2 separate regions of the Homo sapiens genome follow, and region 2 is linked to region 1. The links are contacts of gene promoters, found by promoter capture Hi-C in human tissues and cell types (Jung and others, 2019). All regions are on one chromosome and are shown on one strand. The core of a region is centred on a gene start or on the middle of the fragment in contact, and the rest is flanking DNA. Distances in the headings are between cores, read along the strand shown.

The links. The method cuts DNA at HindIII sites, captures the fragments that hold promoters and counts their contacts. A contact is called where the count stands out against the background at its distance.
Region 2: the fragment with the promoter of TRMU here is called in contact with the fragment with the promoter of UPK3A in region 1 in 1 of the 25 tissues and cell types used here (aorta).

The regions. Positions count from the first base shown.
Region 1 is chr22:45,281,207-45,286,972 of GRCh38, forward strand. It overlaps UPK3A (uroplakin 3A), which reads left to right and starts at 3,743. Exons shown (of 6, transcript NM_006953.4): 1 at 3,743-3,859; 2 at 4,735-4,890. The coding sequence starts at 3,808. RefSeq lists a silencer at 3,564-3,873. The HindIII fragment of the contact is 20,192 bases long and covers 1-5,766 here.
Region 2 is chr22:46,333,581-46,339,028 of GRCh38, forward strand. TRMU (tRNA mitochondrial 2-thiouridylase) reads left to right here and starts at 2,134. Exons shown (of 11, transcript NM_018006.5): 1 at 2,134-2,266; 2 at 4,199-4,364. The coding sequence starts at 2,185. RefSeq lists enhancers at 2,172-2,391, 2,224-2,723 and a silencer at 2,532-2,581. The HindIII fragment of the contact is 7,028 bases long and covers 1-3,957 here.

The DNA of each region.
Region 1 (5,766 bases), core at 2,493-4,992:
CTGGTGGTGCATGCCTGTAGTCCCAGGATTGCTTGAGTCCAGGAGGTCGAGGCTACAGTGAACTATGATCTTGCCACTTTGAGCTATGATTAAAGCTGCAATAACAGAGCCAGACCCTATCTCTTAGAAAAAGGATAAAGAAAATCAGCAGAAACTAATTAATTTCTGTATGACGTTGATGACATAACCTCACTGGCAGAAAAAGAATAAAACGATCTGAGTAATTATAGAGCTGGGTTGTCCAGGGGTACCTCCTTAGTGGAGTACACTCTAAGAACTGGGAGGCCTGTGACAGAACCCCAAACCTCACTAGTGACTTTGTTATTGGCAGTGGGGAGGGCGGAGCCATTGTGAAGCAACTTTGGGTTATCCTAGGATTGGTGGTACCAGAACCCAGATTCTCACTGTAGGATGAGGGAGATTTGGAATGGAAGAAGGAAAATGCTGGTGTTTTGTTATTTGTAATTAGTTATGGAAAAAAATTACTAAAACAAGATTTTTAAGTGAAAAGAAAAGAAAAAGGCTGGCCAGGCACAGGCCTGTAATCCCAGCACTTTGGGAGGCTGAGGCGGGTGGATCACTTGAGGTCAGGAGTTCGAGACCAGCCTGGCCACATGGTGAAACCCCGTCTCTACTAAAAATACAAAAAAATTAGCTGGGCATGGTGGCGTGCGCCTGTAGTTCCAGCTACTCAGGTGGGTGGCTGAGGCAGGAGAATCTCTTGAACCCAGGAGGTGGAAGTTGCAGTGAGCCAAGATCACCCCATTGCACTCCAGCCTGGGCAATAGAGTAAAACTGTCTCAAAAAAAAAAAAAAAAAAAAGAAAGAAAGAAGGAAGGACAAAGAAAGAAGAAAGAGAGGAAGGAAGGAAGGAGAAAGAAAGAAAGAAGGAAGGAAGAAAGGAAGGAAGGAAGGAGAAAGAAAGAAGGAAGGAAGGAGAAAGAAAGAAGGAAGGAAAGAAAGGAAGGAAGGAAGGTAGAAAGAAAGAAAGAAAGAAAGAAAGAAAGAAAGAAAGAAAAAGAAAAAACTAGGTTCATTGAGACAGACCGAGAAGCAGTAATACCCAGTTGCAAGAGGCACCTTGCCACTGTTAGATCTTAAACTCCAGTCTCCAGTGAAAGGCACCAGTGCCCCTTGGAGAGATGGCTGAATCCAGAGCTGGGACAGGGAATGTCAAGAGGAGCCCGGGACATTTTATTGTGCCAGAAAGTAAAGAGGTTCTCAAAGAATGGTGGGAGCGTGAAAGCAGCTAGCACAGAGCTGCTGGAAGGAGCTGCCAACAGCCAGGCCTGGGAACATTTGAGCACAAAATAAATAATGGAAGTCATACATTCAGCTTGCTTTTTTTTTTTTTTTGAGACGGAGTCTCACTGTGTCACCCAGGCTGGATTACAGTGGCACGGCGCGATCTCAGCTCACTGAAACCTCCACCTCCTGGGTCCAAGAGATTCTCCTGCCTCAGCCTCCCAAGTAGCACTGATTAGAACTCACCGTCATGACCATGTCCTGCCCAAAAGGTTTAACTTGAATTTCATCAATAGGAAACCATCAGACAGATCCACATGCAGGGACTTTCTGCAAACCAGCTGGACTGGATGCTTTGCAAATGTTCACATCAGGAAAGACAGAAGCAAAACAAAACAAAAGGCTGAGAACTGTCTGATGGTTTCCTATTGATGAGATTCAAGTTAAACCTTTTGGGCGGGACATGGATGTCCAAGTAGCTGGGACTACAGGCGCCTGCCACCACGCCTGGCTAGTTTTTTGGGTTTTTTTGTATATTTAGTAGAGAAGGGGTTTCACTGTGTTGGCCAGGCTGGTCTCAAACTCCTGACCTCATGATCTGCCCACCTCGGCCTCTCAAAGTGCTGGGATTACAAGCGTGAGCCACCGCATCCAGCTGGGGAAAGATTTTTAGGGATCAAGGGCCGGGCGCGGTGGCTCACGCCTGTAATCCCAGCACTTTGGGAGGCTGAGGTGCGTGGATCACAAGGTCAGGAGATTGAGACCATCCTGGCTAACACAGCGAAACCCCGTCTCTACTAAAACAATACAAAATATCAGCCAGGCATGGTGGCAGGTGCCTGTAGTCCCAGCTACTCGGGAGGCTGAGGCAGAAGAATGGCGTGAACGTGGGAAGTGGAGCTTGCAGTGAGCCGAGATCACGCCACTGCACTCCAGCCTGGGTGACAGAGCAAGACTCCGTCCCCCCCAAAAAAAAAAAGAAAAAAAAGATTTTTAGGGAACAAGACATACATTAATCCAGAGATACCAACTTTACCAAATGATGAAATGGAACATCCCCAATAATGGGACACACTGACCTCATGTGCTTCCTTCCTCCATTCCAAATCTCCCTCATCCTACAGTGAGAATCTGGGTTCTGGTACCACCAATCCTAGGATAACCCAAAGTTGCTTCGGAATGGCTCCGCCCTCCCCACTGCCAATAACAAAGTCACTAGTGAGGTTTGGGGTTCTGTCACAGGCCTCCCAGTTCTTAGAGTGTACTCCACTAAGGAGGTACCCCTGGACAACCCAGCTCTATAATTACTCAGATCGTTTTATTCTTTTTCTGCAAGTGAGGTTATGTCATCAACGTCATACAGAGATTAATTAGTTTCTGTTGATTTTCTTTATCTTTTTTCTAAGAGACAGGGTCTGGCTCTGTTATTGCAGCTTTAATCATAGCTCAAAGTGGCATGATCATAGTTCACTGTAGCCTCGACCTCCTGGGCTCAAGCAATCCTGGGACTACAGGCATGCCCCACTAGGCTGAGCTAATTTTTTTTTTTTTTTTTTTGGTAGAGATGGGGTCTCACTATGATGCCCAGGATGGTCTCTAGCTCCTGGCCTCAAGGGATCCTCCTATCTTGACCTCCCAAAGTGTTGGGATTACAGGCATGAGCCTCCTTGCCCCTCTTCTGTTGTTTTTTTCCTATCCTTGTTGACTTACTTTTATTTCTTAAATGTAAAATTGATTTAAGGTGCATCCAGAGATGTGCACAGATTCTTGTGATGGAGGGAACCGCACAGTCATGGTGAGGAGTCCATCATAATTTTCAAACGCCCCTTTAAGAAGTAGGCATTAACACCCTGCTCCATCCCTTTGGAGGCAGCCCTGGGCTGAGCACTGGACTCCTGGGTTCCACCAGCCTCAGTGTCTCCAGGAGACCAAGCGCGGCCGGGGGTGAGTCCCTGTCCCCGCGCCCCCCACCACGCTCCAATACTTACCCCCTGCCCCACCCCCCAGCCTCCCGGGCCTTGGCTTGTACCTGTGAACCGAAGGGGTCATACTAGGCGTCATACTAGGGTCTCTGGATAGCTCCCAGGCCTGGACTTCGTTTTCCAGGATATCACCTTTACTGGTCAACCCATTTTGTTTCGCGAGTGCCCAGTGAGTGTTTGGCACGTAATAGAGCCTCCATAAATAGTTGTAGAAATTAGCGTCATTTTACAGTATGGAAACTGAGGCTCCAAGTGGGAGTGGCTTGCCCTCAAGGTCCCATTGGTGAGAGACGCTGTGGAAGGGCTGCCCTGGCCTGGGCACACAGTAGGCGCTTTGATGCGGGCTGGAGAAGGTCCTGCCCGGTGGGATTGCGCCCTGGGGCACCGCGCACGGGTCGGGGAAGCCCGGGGCAGGGCCGTATGCAAATAGCGCGCGAGGAGGCCGCGGATTGGCCAGCCCAGGCGGGGGCGGGGCGCGCCGAGGGCCCAGAGCTGGCAGGTGCCCTGGCAGGGACAGGTCTGGTGCCCGCGCCTGCTCGCTGGACCGCCCGCCCCGCGCTCTGGCGGCTCCTCCCGGGCGATGCCTCCGCTCTGGGCCCTGCTGGCCCTCGGCTGCCTGCGGTTCGGCTCGGGTAGGCGGTGAAGGGCAGGAGGGGGCTGAGCCCAGAAAGAGCGGGCAGCTCTGCCCTGGGGCGCCCGCCGCCTGGACCCTGATTCCTGGCGCTGGGGACCCAGATATTACTGTTATGAATAATAGTGATAGCCAACGTTTACGGGCCTCCTCTGTTGGGAATCCGAGGGCTCACAGATGGCTGCAGCCCTGCGATGTGTGTTGCAAGAGACCAACATGCAGGGGGGCTGCGGTAGGACAGAGAAGGGACTAGCCCCAGCCCCATGGTGACGCCTGGACGGGGGCAGATAGAGAGATATTTCGGCCGAGGAAGCAGCATGGGCAAGTTCATGGAGGGGAGACAATATTGGGCTGTCCTGGGAACTGCCAGTCCATGGGACCAGCTGGAGCCTGGGGTGAGGGGAGCCTGTGGGGGAAGGGGTGAGGCTGGAGACCGAACAAAGCAAAGCCCAGAACTTCAGGACCTCACTGCCTTTCCAGAGAGGCTGGACTTCGTCAGGGGGCGCTGGGGGACCATGGGAGGGCCATAGCCAGAGAATGAGGCAGTCAGACTTGCATGTGGGGGGAGGGCCCAGGTGAGGAAGGTGGGACGGAGGAGGGCTGGGCCGATGGCATGGAGAGATGCTTAGGAGGGGCAGTGGAGTTCTTGGCAACTGAGTGTCTGCAGCAGGGAGAGAAGGCAGCAGTTTGGCCCGACCGCTCCATTTCTGAGCAGGATGACTGGGCAGGGGGCAGTGTCTGAGACAGCTTATGCGGTGGCCCAGGGGGAGGGTGAAGCCCAGGGCCTGGCACACAACACGTGCTCAGTAACTGCAAGCAGAGTGGGTGTGGACAGTTCTGCCGGAGGTCAGTTCCCATCCTCACTGCCTCCTCCAGCTGTGAACCTGCAGCCCCAACTGGCCAGTGTGACTTTCGCCACCAACAACCCCACACTTACCACTGTGGCCTTGGAAAAGCCTCTCTGCATGTTTGACAGCAAAGAGGCCCTCACTGGCACCCACGAGGTCTACCTGTATGTCCTGGTCGACTCAGGTAAGGGTCCTGCTTCCCTCTGGCTACTCCAAAAGGGGCTCTGACCTGTCTGCAGGGAGGAGGGAAGGAGGCAGATAGAGGAACCCTCCATGCCTGTAGTCGTCTCATTAAACAGGTACTGCAGCCACAGACCTGTCCTTGCCTTGCAGGGACATCCAGTTAGTGAGGGAAGTAATAACACCACCAGTCACTGAACACCTACACCATACCAGGCACTTTGCACACCATAGAGCTAGTATCTACAACCAGCTTGTAAGGTAGCTATTACCAATCCCCATTACAGAGCAGGGAAGCAAGGCTCAGAGAGGTGGAATAACCCCCCCTGGACCTCCCAGGGCTGGAGAGTGAATCCTGATCTCTCTAGTCCCCAAGCCCAAGGTCCTTCCTGAGGCTTCGAAAGGTGGCTCAAGATTGGTGTTTCTGAGACAAAACCATGCATTTGGACCTGCTGCTGTGGCCCAGCCCCAACCCCTGCCCTGGAGGGGATCCTGAGCTTCTGAGACAAGCCAACATCAACTCTTGCATTTCTAGCAGCCAGTCATTTACAACAGCTCATTCGGGACCATCCTTTTCTTCTTTCAGCATGTGTTTATTGACTATAAACTAAAGTGCCTGATCTCCGGGCACTGTAGGGAATTTCTCTCCCATTTCATAGAAGACTAGGGTCTGAAGAGGTAGAGTGAGTTGTCCAAGGTCACCCATCTAGTAAGGAGGAGAGCTGGGTCCTGCCTCCACGTTATTTCCCTTGGACCGATGACCTTCCTTTCCCATTTTACACAAGAGAGAATCCAGGGCTTTCAGCAATGAAGAGACAAAGGTCTGTTGGGATGGGGGGTTGCAGGAATGTCACAAGATAAGGCGAGAGTCAGACACAGC
Region 2 (5,448 bases), core at 884-3,383, 1.1 Mb after region 1:
ATATGTATCAAAGCAAGCTGTGCCTCGACCACCTTGGGCACATATCCTCAGGACATCATCCTGAGGCTGTGTCACTGGCATGTCCTTAACCTTGGCAAAATAAACTTTCTAAATTGAAACCTGTCTCAGGTACTTTGGGTTCATACCACAAGGGAGGGTTCTCATGCACATGTGCCTAATAATAACAACTATCACAAAAGACTGCAAAAACCACAACTTTACACAAAGGCTATCGTAACCTTCCTCAAAAAAAAAAAAAAAACAAAAAACTTCTGTTGCAAGGACATCTGCCCAGCAACTGCTTGTCCAACCCTGGAGTGCTGTCACCCTTGTTATTGATCTTTGTAGCCAAAGAATTATCTCAAAACAATGATGTGATCCTCATTTTCCCTTTAAAAACCTTTGTCTTCCTAGGCCGGGCACTGTGGCTCACGCGTGTAATCCCAGCACTTTGGGAGGCCGAGGCGGGCGGATCACAAGGTCAGGAGATCAAGACCATCCTGGCCAACATGGTGAAATGCCGTCTCTACTAAAAATACAAAAATTAGCTGGGTGTGGTGGCATGTGCCTGTAATCCCAGCTACTCCGGAGGCTGAGGCAGGAGAATCGCTTAAACCCGGGAGGCGGAGGTTGCAGTGAGCTAAGATCACGCCACTGCACTCCAGCCTAGTGACCAAGTGAGACTGTCTCAAAAAAATAAATAAATAAAATAAAAACCTTTGTCTTCCTTTACTTCCCTGAATACCCACATAGCTTATTGTGGCATGCATATTCCCATTGCAATGCCCTATTCACAAATGAACATCTTTTTCGTTCAGAGTCTCCCTGTGCTTTAGGTAGACCTTGTCTAGATGCTAACTCGTAGAGAAGAACTCAGCTTGAATATCACCCCTGGGGGATGACCTCCATTCTCTCCTCCTTCCTTTATTCAGCGAGGTTATGAAGCACCTGCCCTGGGCCAGGGGCTTTTCTGGGCATGGAGTAGGAGTGGACAGAACACAAAACCCCTGTCCAACACACCTCACAGACATTAAGGATTGAGTGCTGAGTATGCTTGGAGTCAAACTGTAAAAGATTTGAAGATATTTATTCATGTCATAGTCCCAGGAGATCCTGAGAACACGTGCTCAAACTGGTGGTGCTACAGCTTTTGGTTTCGTACGTTTTAGGGAGACATAAGCCATAAATCAATACATGTAAGATGTAACATTGGTTCCGGAAAGGTGGGACAACTCGAAGGTGGGGTGGGGCTTCCAGGTCATAGGTGGATTCAAAGATTTTCTGGGCCGGGGGCAGTGACTCACACCTGTAATCCCGCCACTTTGGGAGGCTGAGGTGGGCGGATCCCTTGAGGTCAGGAGTGAGAGACCAGCCTGGCAAATACGGTGAAACCCCGTCTCTACTAAAAATACAAAAATTAGCTGGGCTTGGTGGCGGGCGCCTGTAATCGCAGCTACTAGGGAGGCTGAGGCAGGAGAATCGCTTGAATCTTGGAGGTGAAGGTTGCAGTGAGCCGAGGTCGCGCCCACTACACTCCAGCCTGCGACAGAGCAAAACTCCATCTCAAAAAAATTTAATTAATTAAAAATTAAATTAAATTAAAATACTGTAAAATACTTCGATATCTTTCAGGGCCTGCCATCTGTCATGTCGGTATCCTATTGCTACGGAGAGTCCGCCTAGACAGTCTTAAGTCTGTTTTGACGTTAATGCTGGTCCGAATTCCAAAGGGAGGAGGAGGGTCTAGTGAGGCGGGTCCCACCCGGCCTTTCCCATCAGAGCCCGAACTCGCGGTTCAGGTTCCCTCTAGGACGCCCTTGGCCGAGAGGAGGCCTCCAATGGCTGGCTGGGGGGCTTAGAATTTTATTTTTGGTTTACAGCGCAGAAGAAGAGCAGTGAGGCCGGGGCGCGGGTGGGGAGGGCAAGGCGGCGGCTCAAAAAAAAAGCCAGCCCCTCGCGGCCCGACAGAGTCTCGGCGCCCCGCGGGTCGGTGGAGCCTCAGGGGTGAGCGCAGGCCGGAGACAGGGGAACCCGCCGCGGGACAGGGGAAGGCCGGACGGAACGCGGGTAAGCTGCCGCAGCTTCCGGCCGGGCCACTAGCGCGGACCCTACGGCCGGGGCGGGACTTCCGGCAAGGCGCGGAAGCGGCGGTAGCTGCAGCTGGCGAAGTTGGGCGACTGGCGGATGCAGGCCTTGCGGCACGTCGTGTGCGCCCTGTCCGGCGGCGTGGACAGCGCCGTGGCCGCGCTGCTGCTGAGGCGGAGAGGTGAGGCGTCCGAGGCTCCCGCCCCCCGCCGAGCGAATGTGTCCCCGGAAACCTGTCCCCGTCCGTCGTGGCGTTGTGCACGTCTCCTCCCTCCCTGGGCCGCTGGTTGCGCGCGGGTCGGCAGGAGGATACCCCGTCCTCTGACTTTGGTTCGGAGGCTCCTCGCCCTCCACCTGTGTAGTCGGAGGTGTGCGCGACTGCAGCTCCGACTACCTGGGAGCAGTTCCGCGCCCCTCTCCACCCACGCGCGCCCACCCACAGTGAGAAGCCGGCGGGCCGGGGTGGGGTGGGGAGGGAAGGGTTTCTCACGGATCTGCGGCGTCCACATTCACCTGTGAGACCGTGGACACTGGTGAGGGGAGCTGGGATCGCCGGGCCGGGGGCCTGACCTCTGCACACGCTGTGGCCGCCCGGTGGGAGGTCCTTGTCCTCCCCACTCAGCAGACTGGACAACTGCCGCGCGGCGGGTCTGCTTGTTCAGCGTCTCCTGTGTTCTCCGCTCGCTGGAGGACAAAGTTTTCTCCAGGAGCATTTGCATTTCTTCCGGCATCTAAACGGAGCCCCACGGGTGCTTAGCATTCCTCGGGCCCGGCGCTGAAATGAGCACTTGTTTAACTTCACCTGTGTGGCTCCCCGCGGGAGGCCTCATTCACAGAGTCACGTTTGTGGAGCTCTGCTTTGCGCCATCTTTGGCTCCTGACCTTGGGCAAGTGAATTAAGCCGTCCCCTGTAAAATTCGGCTAACACCTGCCTCACGGGGTGACTGGAGGGATTAGATGACATAGTACATACTGATGAGTACGTGCTCAGCACATACGAGGTACGCAGAAAACAGTAGTGGCTATTAGTTTATATTGTTAATAACCATAGCTATTATGGTAGGTACAGTAAGTGCCAAAGAGAAGGGTAGGCGGACCATAAGCAGAAATAGTTGTGAGGAAGGGAGAGTGGAGGAAAGCATCCTAGAGATGGAGGTGCTCAGCTGAGTCGAAAGAAGAGTAGGATGTCACTAAGCAGAGACTTGGAGGTGGAGGCGGCCCTCCCGGCACAGTCAGCAGTGCAAGCAGAATCACAGAGGCCTGCAAGTGTGGGCTGGTTCTGGCCAGATGGAGATGGAAGGAGAGGAGCCTGGAGCACGTTTAGCCCTGATTATGGAAGATGCTATACCAGGGGCTTTAGACTGTTAGGTAGACATTAGTCTGGTTGATCTGGGATAGGGGTGGTCTTTCGCGTGTGGTGGTGTAGTTTTGACAAAGCTTTGTCATCAAATTTCTGTTGTTTTGGGTACTATATGAAGCCTTCTTCAGCAGTCATTTGCCCTGTCTTTCATTACATTCAGCCTACCTAAACGAACCAGCTTTCTCATACAGGGTCTGCACCTGTGTAGTTTGCTAAGGTGGTGTAGGGCTAAAGTTGGCCTTTCCAATATTTGGGTGAATATTTTGTTACAATCGAAAAGGTAGAAAATAGGTCATAAACTAGGTGGTACAGCTCTTACAAAATATCGAAAATTTTAATTATCTTTATATCTGATCACTTAGAATCTAAGTCTTAGATAGTAACTAGAAATAACTTTTGAAAAGAGTTTCCTTTTTTGATAACTGAATGGTGCTTTGAAAAATTTTGTTGAGTTTCGACTATTCCTTCGTGTATTCCACACACACTGGCTGATCCCCTCCTGCTAGGTATTGTGCTGATACATAGATGGGGACACAAAGATGAGAAAATACCACCTCGTTAATCTTGGGGACTCAGGCACCAAGATGGAAACCGGATCCCTGAAGCCACATGGCAAAGCAGGGACTGCCCGGCAGGCCAGGCACAGAGGCACAGGAGCACAGCGTGTGGGGAACTTCTCAGAGCTCAGAAATCACTGCCGTTTTACCGAAGGTTGATTTATGTATTCTCTTTAATTGACCTTCCCGCCCGCAGGTTACCAGGTGACAGGGGTGTTTATGAAGAACTGGGACTCACTGGATGAACATGGGGTCTGTACTGCCGACAAAGACTGTGAAGATGCTTACAGAGTTTGCCAGATCTTAGACATCCCTTTCCATCAAGTGTCCTACGTAAAGGAGTATTGGAATGATGTGTTCAGGTGAGTGCGGGTCACAGCACAAAGGAAGCTTCCTCACACTGTGGATCCTTGCAGTGGAAGGATCCGGTAACCAGCCAGACCGACGCCTGTGCTGCAGCCCAGCGCTCTCCCTCCACGGTGGTGCTGAAGACTGCAAGAGGCCTCAGCCACCCTCGGGGCTCTGTGTTAGAGGCGAGGCCTGGACCCCACAGCACACCCAGCTCTCTCACTCCTGTCATTTTGCCACTTGCCTGAAGTCTCTTTAATGCTTTCTTGGACCTTGAGCTGTTTCTGTTGCCCAGTTAGGATAGGGGAGCTAAGGCTGAGGGCTCCCCTGGAAGGTGAGCACCAATGCCTGTGTGCTATGTGGGTCAGCGATTAGGGGATTTCTGAGAAAGAGGTGATACATGGCCTGTGCCTCTGAAAACAAGAAACAAACAAAAACTTTTCTAAAATCCAATATAATCTCAATAATTAAGTGCTGTGTGCTAGGCGTGTGCCACATCTAGGAACATTAAGATGTCTTCACTGTGACCTGGCTCTGTAGGAGTTTGCGGTCTAGTTGGGAGGACATTATCTTCACAAGAGGTGACAGTGATGCGTGGCACGCAGGAAGTACCAGTGATGCTATCAGTCACTGAACCCAGAGGAGGGAGAAACTTGCAGTGTGGAGTAATCAAGAAGGCTTCACCGGAGAGGAGGGGTTGCAAACAAAGTTGTAGAGAAGGGACTCCAAATGGGGTAACGAGAGCAGCGTGAAGGGGAGAAGAAATGCTGATTGTGTATTTCAGGACCGTTGTAAAGTTTGGCTGGACTTTTGTTCCTGCAGTGGAAGGAGTGTAGGGCTCATCCTCTGGTGAGCCCTGACTGTGATGAATGTCGGGCAGTTGTCGAAGGCGTCTGACACAGCAGGCCATGTGCGCGGGACAGGCTGCCCCTGCCTGAGTGGGCTTTAGGGGCAGAAGAGCCTTGGGTTGAGTCCTGACTGTAGCTTATTATATGACCTTGGGCAATTTACTTGACTTTGTTTTTTTAATTGAAAAAAATTCTCTTTTTTTCCTGCCAACAAAGACCCAGAAGAGATACTTGACTTTTCTAAGCCCCA